2 separate regions of the Homo sapiens genome follow, and region 2 is linked to region 1. The links are contacts of gene promoters, found by promoter capture Hi-C in blood cells and fetal thymus (Javierre and others, 2016). All regions are on one chromosome and are shown on one strand. The core of a region is centred on a gene start or on the middle of the fragment in contact, and the rest is flanking DNA. Distances in the headings are between cores, read along the strand shown.

Region 1 (4,858 bases), core at 2,089-4,588:
ACCAGCTCGGCCAACATGGTGAAACCCCATTTCTACTAAAAATACTAAAAATATGAAAAAAAGTGGCTGGGCATGGTGGCGGGCACCTGTAATCCCAGCTACTCAGGAGGCTGAGGCAGGAGAATCGCTTGGACTCGGGAGGCAGAGGTTGCAGTGAGCCAAGATTGCGCCATTGCAACACAGCCTTGGCAACAGGCAACAGAGCGAGGCTGGGCAACAGAGCAAGACTCCATCTCAAAAAGAATAAAAATAAATAAAAATAAATAAAAGAAGAAGATGACTTTCCAGAAAAGGGGACAAGGAAACGCATATTCGCCCCCAACCACCTTTTACTTACTCAACTGGTACTGCAGCAACTTCAATTCCTTCTGCATAATCTCTGACTCCTCCCACAGCACTGCAGGAGTGACAGCAGTGCTATTCTAAAGTCAATCAACAAATCCAGAGTAAGAAGGCAAGTAGAGTATCTAGGGTCTTGTGAAACTCTTAGAGAGGATGATCCCCAACTTGTCCCACTACAAATGCCAAAAGTTCAAAGGCCTCAAGAAGGCAAGGCCGCACTCAGTGCTCAATGGCGCCCAGGCTGGAGTGCAGTGGCGTGATCTCGGCTCGCTACAACCTCCACCTCCCAGCCGCCTGCCTTGGCCTCCCAAAGTGCCGAGACTGCAGCCTCTGCCCGGCCGCCACCCCGTCTGGGAAGTGAGGAGCGTCTCCGCCCGGCAGCCACCCCGTCCGGGAGGGAGGTGGAGGGGGTCAGCCCCCCGCCAGGCCAGCCGCCCCGTCTGGGAGGGAGGTGGGGGTGTCAGCCCCCCGCCCGGCCAGCCACCCCATCCGGGAGGTGAGGGGTGCCTCTGCCCGGCCACCCCTACTGGGAAGTGAGGAGCCCCTCTGCCCGGCCACCACCCCGTCTGGGAGGTGTGCCCAACAGCTCATTGAGAACGGGCCAGGATGACAATGGCGGCTTTGTGGAATAGAAAGGGGGGAAAGGTGGGGAAAAGATTGAGAAATCGGATGGTTGCCGTGTCTGTGTAGAAAGAAGTAGACATGGGAGACTTTTCATTTTGTTCTGTACTAAGAAAAATTCTTCTGCCTTGGGATCCTGTTGATCTGTGACCTTACCCCCAACCCTGTGCTCTCTGAAACATGTGCTGTGTCCACTCAGAGTTAAATGGATTAAGGGCGGTGCAAGATGTGCTTTGTTAAACAGATGCTTGAAGGCAGTATGCTCATTAAGAGTCATCACCACTCCCTAATCTCAAGTACCCAGGGACACAAACACTGCCGAAGGCCGCAGGGTCCTCTGCCTAGGAAAACCAGAGACCTTTGTTCACTTGTTTATCTGCTGACCTTCCCTCCACTATTGTCCTATGACCCTGCCAAATCCCCCTCTGTGAGAAACACCCAAGAATGATCAATAAAAGAAAAACAAACCCAAAAAAAAAAAAAAAAAAAAAGAAGGCAAGGTCTTGACTATCCCTTACTCAGTCTGCAGCTCCTGAGGAAGGCCATTGGTAGTACTGCATTCTCCTGGTCCTGTTTGCATCTGGGCTTGGGCTTGGGCTTGGGTTTGCTCCCACACCTGGCTCTGAAGGCCCTGCAGTTCCTTTCTCAGCTCCTCCAGGCATTGCTCCAGGAGAAAAGCACTCCCCTTTGGGGCCCCCTGCAGCAACCTTAGTGATGCTGTAGTGGGACAAGTTAGGGATCATCCTCTCTAAGAGTTTCACAAGACCCTAGATACTCTACTTGCAAAACAAGACACATGTGCACACACAACAGGTGTGTGGCAAAATTGTGTGCATACATATGAAGCTGTGTATATGAAGAAAATAACTGGCCAGATACCTTCCAGGACACTGATCTGGTACTTCTGCTGCTCTCGCTCTTCTAGCAGGCCCTGCACTGCCTGCCTTAGTGCCTGTCACCTCCCCAGGCAGAAAAAAGCACATGAACTACTGTATAACAGCTTTTCCCGACCCCTAGTATCCTCATCTTACACAAACATCACATATACACACCAAGGATTCCAAGCCTCACCTGAGCCTGACATTGAAATTAGGATCAGAGAATAGCAACCTCACCCCAGAGAGAGGATGGGCTCTAGGACTCAGGGCAGCTCAGCCTTTGTGGAACTATGGGAGTCTCTAAAGCCCAAGGCTGTTGAGCTTGGACTCCTGACTGCAGAGGCAAGTGATGAGAGGAAATCCAGGTCCCAGCCAGGTCCCCGGCTGAGGAAATAAGGAAGGGTTAAGTGCAGGGTCTGTGTGGGGAAACAGAGTTCAGGAAAGGACAGAGTTGGAATTTGGAAGGAATAATGGATGATACGGGCACTGGAGGAAGGCACAGAAAGAGAAAGGGCTTGGAAGTAGAAAGAGACATTACTTACCTGCGGTGGAGACCCCAAGAAGATACAGCCACTGCTACAGAAGAAACAGATGCACAGGCCAATGAGCTCTGTGGAGACCCCAAGAGGATACAGCCACTGCTACAAAAGAAACAGATGCACAGGCCAATGAACTCTGAGAGTCCCTTAGCCTCCCCACGCAAACTGGGGACCTCCACCAACCCCTCACCTTATTCCGGACCACATTTCCATCAGTAGCGTTGAGAAGCACATCCAGCTGCTCAAACCAGCTGAGGCTCGTATTCATATCCTGTGGCAGGGGAGCGGCAGGGGTCTGGCTCCCTGGTGTCTTGTGCTTGCTCTCCTAGCGGGGGATACCCAAGGTATCCCCAGGAAAGGCCACCACGTTAGATGGAAAGAGGGAAGTGGGGATGCAACACTGGGGTAGGTGGATGCACTATCAGACCAAAACTGCGATCCTGTGACTAGGGAAAGGAAGGACGCTCTTGGGGAACTGGGGGAAAAGCGGGATACCGTGATGATACGCAGATATCAGGTGGGGATTGAAGGTGCCAGAACCTGGTTGAGACCTCCCCAGAAGTAGTACACTGGCGCCACCACGCCAAACCTGTGCCAGTGACAACTGCCGCCGCCGGGTTCAAAACTTCGGGTTGGTTTTGAAAGTCCGACTTTGGACTGGCTGCCGCAGCGCCACCTGGGAAACTGAGGTCGCCTCTTGCGAACACAACCGGCGATGGAGGCGGTGGAACTACCTTTCTCTAGAAGAGACACGTACATGCACACCCCCACCGTGTAGCTTGCCGGGAAACTGAGTCTTCCTGATTTCGTGTGGCTGTCTCCAAGGAGGAAACGAACTACGCATCCCAAGATGCATCGCGCATAGGCAATATGGTCCCGCTACTGGACCCATTTCCTACCTGGGAAATGGAGTCGAAGCTGACTCAAAACGTAACGGCCCAATTGTCCTTGAGACTTCATTCCCCAGCAAGCTCAGCGTGTAACGTGCGCTATGGAGCCGAAAGTCGCAGAGCTGAAGCAGAAGATCGAGGACACGCTATGTCCTTTTGGCTTCGAGGTTTACCCCTTCCAGGTTAGTTTATCCCTCCTGCTGTTCTAGGGCGAAATATATGATTGGCTTCGTTGCAACTGGCGTGAGGCCTCGGGAGCCTCTGATCCTCCTGGGTTCCTGCAGCCCAGTGTCCATGTGACAACAGGGACAGAGTTTCAGTGGGGGCTTGGGTTAAAAAGGTAGTGGTCGAGGCCGGGCATGGTGGCTCACGCCTGTAATCCCAGCACTTTGGGAGGCCGAGGCGGGCGGATCACCTGAGGTGAGGAGTTCGAGACCAGCCTGGCCAACATGGTGAAACCCCATCTCTACTAAAAATATAAAATTAGCCGGGCGTGGTGGTGCATGCCTGTAATCCCAGCTACTCGGGAGGCTGAGGCAGGACAATTGCTTGAACCCATGAGACGGAGGTTGCAGTGAGCCGAGATTGCGCCATTGCAGTCCAGCCTGAGCAACAAAGAGCGAAACTCCGTGTCAAAAAAAAAAAAAAAAAAAAAAGTTGTCGCATGTTTAACCTTTTGCCACCATATAATGCCGGATTCGTTAACGGGAGACACCATATGACCTGTAGCGTGTGTGGCTCAGATTGTCACCTATATAATTTACAAGAAGAAAGGGACCTGTGAGGCAAAGTCACCTTGGAACTTCCTAAAGGATTTAGGAGAGGGCAAAGCCTAGAAGGTTTGCATAGCTATCATTTAGGTCAGCTGAGGAAGGAAGGGCATTCCTGGTGATGAACAGGCAAACAATTGGCTGGTTTGTTCCCTCTACCAACAGAAGGATAATTCATGATATTTCCAGTCATCAGTGCTGGGCTGGGTAATGAAACTTTGTACACTTGCCTGGCACAGCAGTCTCAGCACCGCACCCCGACCCCCATTTACACGGTTACATTTCCCCACATCAGTGCCCTGTGCACTGAGCAGTTAAGTTACAAAGCTAAATCAGCTCAGCTTGAGCCCTTTGCCTGATGCTTAAGAGACTACCCACTTCCCATTCCTTCTGCTGAGTGGCTCACAGCAGTCCTGGGAGAGGATATAGAGGGAGAAGTAGGTTGGGTCTAGCTTGAGACTGGTCTTGCCAGAAAAAATGGAATTGAGCTATATATGAAAAGATAGATTGGAAGGAAGGAGGGTTATGTACATCCCAAATATCAGAAAAAGCTTGAGTAAAGGTGTGGAGATAGTGGTGTGGTGTTACCAAGTAAAAGGGCTTGATGCCTGATGTGCTGGAAGCTAATATTATGACACTGGGTTTTTGAGAAAACAAAAGCTATTTGTTGCAGATCGACCTTTAACTCTTTGAGACACCGTTTCAGTGGATGGCAGGTGTGTGGGAGAGTGAGAATGCCTATCTGGCAAGTTGAGTAGACCTGGGTATTAGGAGCTTTTGTACTGAACAAAGCCAACTGCAGCCCTGCCAGTCACCCT
Region 2 (4,643 bases), core at 1,216-3,715, 130 kb before region 1:
AACATCTAACTAACAGTGCTATTTATGGGCAAGAAAAAGTTGGCTATAGTCAGAATATAAAGCTTTTTAGCAACTGAGTGATAGATATGAGAAATAAGGAAAAAGAGTCAAAGACATCTCAGAGATTCCAAATTGAAAGGTTCAGACAGCAATGGAAAAAGATTTCAGAATCTTAAATGACTCAATGTGCCATCAGTAAGTCAGAAACCTGTCAGAAACCAGTATCAATGTCAAACAGCCAAATTAGTGGCTTGTTGGCACTCTACTCTTTGGAGGGGCTCTTTGCAGAAAAGGGTTTGGGCCCCGACCTAGTTTTCACTGTAGCCCAACAATACTTTTGTGCTGGCCACCGTATGTTTGTTGGTAGGCTCCAAACACAAAGGCTAGCCGACATCCCATCCTGCTGGCTTGGGTTAAGGAAGAAAAGAAAGCTTTGTTACTGCTCTGGGTAATTCCAGAACAGACATCCCAAGAGTGCCCTGTGGGAGGCTTGTGCTCCAAAGAAGCCTCCTGTTCTCAGCTCGAGGATCCACAGCCACTACAAGCGTACATCCGTATATCTGCCAAGGACTGAATTTGCCTACCGCTCCAGGAGGTTCACCAGGGCCTGCCTGACTGAAACAGTCAGTAGTAATGAGCTGACTCAAAAAGAAAAAGGGAACACTAGTTCTAGCCACAGAGTAAAACGTTGTTAATAACCCAAAATATATTTCAGAATATTTAAGTGTTTAACTCTTGGCCTTCATATATGCTTGCTGAATACCCTTCTTCATAGCTTTGCTAATTCTTATTCATCCTCCTTGTTTATTTATTTTCATTTTTTTTATTATTATTATTTTGAGATAAAGTTTCCCTCGTTGCCCAGGCTGGAGCACAATGGCATGATCTCAGCTCGTTGCAACCTCCTCCTCTTGCGTTCAAGTGATTCTCCTGCCTCTGCCTCCTGAGTAGCTGGGATTACAGGCGTGCACCACCACGCCCGGCTTTTTTTTTTTTTTTTTTTGAGACAGAGTCTCACTCTGTTGCCCAGGCTGCAGTGCAGTGGCGTAATCTCAGCTCACTGCAACCTCTGCCTCCCGGGTTCAAGCAATTCTGCCTCAGCCTCCTGAGTAGCTGGGATTACAGGCGTGTGCCACCACACCTGGCTAATTTTTGTATTTTTAGTAGAGATGGGGTTTCACCATGTTGGTCAGGCTGGTTTTGAACTCCTGACCTTGTGATCCACCTACCTTGGCCTCCCAAAGTGCTGGGATTACAGGCATGAGCCACTGCACCCAGCCTAATTTTGTATTTTTAGTAGAGACGGGGTTTCACCATGTTGGCCAGGCTGGTCTCAAACTCCTGACCTCAGGTGATCCGCCTGCCTCGACCTCCCAAAGTGCTGGGATTACAAGCATGAACCACCACACTGGCCCTTATTTATTTATTTGTCACCCAGGCTGGAGTGCAGTGGCGTGATCCCAGCTCACTGCAACCTCCACCTCCAGGGTTTAAGCAATTCTCCTGCATCAGCCTCCTGAGTAACTGGGATTACAGGCATGGACCACCAGACCTGGCTAATTTTTGGTATTTTTAGCAGAGACGGAGTTTCAACATGTTGGCCAGCTGGTCTCAAACTCCTGACCTCAAGTGATCTGACCGCTTAAGCCTCCCAAAGTGTTGGGATTACAGGTGTGAGCCACCACGGCCAGCCACTTATTCATCCTTCTGAACTCATGGAAAGCATTCCTTGATACTCCATCCCATTCTTAGTGCTAGGCTGGGCACAGTAGCTCACACCTGTAATCCCAGTACTTTGGGAGGCTGAGGCAGGAGTATTGCTTGAGCCCAGGAGTTCGAGCCCATTCTTGGTGCCACTTTAGCATCCTGCACATGTTTCTACTATTGTTCATCACACTGTACTATAACATTTATGGCAGGAACTAGGTCCTGCTCAATTTTGTAAGCCCCTTTGTAAAACTCAGTGAAATTGTTGAACAAACAAATACATAATTAAGTGCATTTAAATAAATGGAGGTGGGTTTTAAGTTCCCTCTTTTATTGGAAGCCCCACCCCTCAATTTAATCATTAAAATGTAATTTAAGATATAAAAGAGAAATGTGCTTTTAGAGGAACTTTCCAATAAATATCATGCAAAAACAAATATTTAATAATGCTGGCTGGGCGCAGAGGCTCATGCCTGTAATCCCAGCACTTTTGGAGGCCAAGGTGGGCAGATTGCTTGAGCTCACGAGTTCGAGACCAGCCTGGGTAACATGGCAAAACCTTGTCTCTGCAAAAAATACAAAAATTAGCTGGGCATAGTGGTGCATGCCTGTAGTCTCAGCTACTCAGGAGGCTGAGGTGGGAGGATGGCTTGAGCTGAGGAGGCAGAGGCTGCAGTGAGCCAACATTGCAACACTGCACCCCAGCCTGGGCATTAGAGCCAGACCTAGTCTCAAAAAATAAATAAAATAAAATAAAATAAAATAAAATGTTTAATAATGCCTACTCAGACAAAGAAAGGCTCAGGCAAAAGACTGAGTCTGATCTTCTACATTGAGGAGACCATGTTGATTAGTGTTATATTCAAAAAAACCAATTCCCAAGTAATGCATACACAGCTGAAAGAAGGAAGTATTCCAGCTGCACCCTCCAAGTTTTCTACATCTCAGTAAACGGCATCGCCACCCACCTAGAAACTGGGCATCATTTGGTTCCTCGTTCTCCTTTTTTTTTTTTTTTGAGATGGAGTCTCTGTTGACTCCGGGTTCAAGCAATTCTCTTGCCTCAGTCTCCCAAGTAGCTGGGATTACAGGCATGTGCCACCATGCCTGGCTAATTGTTGTATTTTTAGTAGAGATAGGGTTTCACCATGTTTGTCAGGTTGCTATCCAAATCCTGACCTCAGGTGATCCACCTGCCTCGGCCTCCCAAAGTGTAGGGATTACAGGCGTGAGCCACTGCATCTGGTCACAAAGCATTTTTTTTTTTTTTTTTTGAGATGGAGTTTCTCTCTTGTTGCCCAGGCTGCAGTGCAATGGAGTGATCTTGGCTCACTGCAACCTCTGCCTCCCAGGTTCAAGCAATTCTCCTGCCTCAGCCTCCCGAGTAGCTGGGATTACAGGTGCCTCCCACCACGCCCAGCTAATTTTTTGTATTTTTAGTAGAGACGGGGTTTCACCATGTTGGCCAGGCTGGTCTCGAACTCCTGACCTCAGGTGATCTACCCACCTCAGCCTCTCAAAGTGCTGGGATTACAGGCGTAAGCCACCATGCCTGGCAAAGCACTTTCATAGTTACCTCATTTGACCATTGAAATTTTTTTTTTTTTTTTTGAGATGGAGTTTCACTCTTGTTGCCCAGGCTGGAGTGCAATGGCGCGATCTTGGCTCACTGCAACCTCCGCCTCCTGGGTTCAAATGATTCTCCTGCCTCAGCCTCCCGAGTAGCTGGGATTACAGGCGCCTGCCACCACACCCGGCTAATTTTTTGTATATTTAATAGAGATGGGTTTCACCATGTTGGCCAGGCTGGTCTTGAACTCCTGACTTCAGGTGATCCACCCATCTTGGCCTCCCGAAGTGCTGGGATTACAGGTGTGAGCCACCACACCCGGCCTGACCATTGTAATATCTTGAAACATTCTTGTCATCTTTTTGTTTTTGTTTTTTTGTGTGTGTTTTTTGTTTTTTTTGGTTTTCTTTTGTTTTGTTTTTCAGACGGAGTCCCGCTCCATTGCCCAGGCTGGGCTGCAGTGGCGCAATCTCAGCTCACTGCAACCTCCGCCTCTGGGTTCAAGCAATTCTCCTGTCTCAGCCTCCCGAGTACCTGGGACTACAGGCGCCTGCCACCACGCCCGGCTAATTTTTGTATTTTTTAGTAGAGACGAGGTTTCACCTTATTGGTCAGGCTGGTCTCGAACTCCTGACCTCAGGTGATCCACCTGCCTCGGCCTCCCAAAGTGCTGAGATTACAGGCATGAGCCACCGCACCCGGCTGGTTGGTTGTTTGTTTTTTGAGACGGAGTTTTGCTCTTGTTGCCCAGGTGTGAGCCACTGCACCTGGCTGGTTTTTGTTTGTTTGTTTTTTGAGATGGAGTTTTGTTCTTGTTGCCCAGGCTGGAGTGCAATGGCGCCATCTTGGCTCACTGCAACCTCCACCTCCTGGGTTCAAGCAATTCTCCTGCCTCAGCCTCCCAAGAAGCTGGAATTACAGGTGTGCGCCACCATGCCTGGCTAATTTTTGTGTGTGTGTTTTTAGTGGAGATGGGGTTTCACCATGTTGGTCAGGCTGGTCTTGAACTCCTGACCTTAAGTGATCCACCTGCCTCGGCCTCCCAAAGTGCTGGGATTATGGGTATGAGCCACCAGGCTGGCCCAGAGAACTTAAATAACTTGCCTATGATTATTCAACTAGTAAATAGTACAGCTTGGATTTGTATCCAAGCCTTGTGACCTAAAAGCCTGGGTTTCTTCTACCCTAGGAGTGTACATTTATGTAGGGAAGCTAAAGCAAAAAAAGCTTTAATAAATGAAAGAATGGGGCTGAGTGCAGTGGCTCACGCCTGTAATCTCAGCACTTTGGGAGGCCAAGGCAGGTGGATCACGAGGTCAAGAGTTCAAGACCAGCCTGGCCAACATTGTGAAACCCCGTCTCTACT

Evidence for each region. Contacts are between HindIII fragments. The CHiCAGO score rates a contact against its expected background, and 5 or more counts as called.
Region 2: a fragment that was not itself captured here is called in contact with the fragment with the promoter of MMACHC in region 1 in 2 of 17 cell types (total B cells and naive B cells); the score reaches 6.1 in total B cells.

The regions. Positions count from the first base shown.
Region 1 is chr1:45,496,962-45,501,819 of GRCh38, forward strand. It overlaps MMACHC (metabolism of cobalamin associated C), which reads left to right and starts at 3,339. Exons shown (of 4, transcript NM_015506.3): 1 at 3,339-3,452. The coding sequence starts at 3,372. CCDC163 (CCDC163 homolog) reads right to left here and starts at 3,112. Exons shown (of 5, transcript NM_001102601.3): 1 at 2,571-3,112; 2 at 2,384-2,482; 3 at 338-422. The coding sequence starts at 2,648. RefSeq lists enhancers at 3,052-3,584, 3,134-3,333. The HindIII fragment of the contact is 9,755 bases long and covers 1-4,589 here.
Region 2 is chr1:45,364,694-45,369,336 of GRCh38, forward strand. All of the region lies in intron 4 of TESK2 (testis associated actin remodelling kinase 2), which reads right to left. Among named protein-coding and RNA genes, the nearest start is that of TOE1, 27 kb to the left of the region's middle. The HindIII fragment of the contact is 4,073 bases long and covers 430-4,502 here.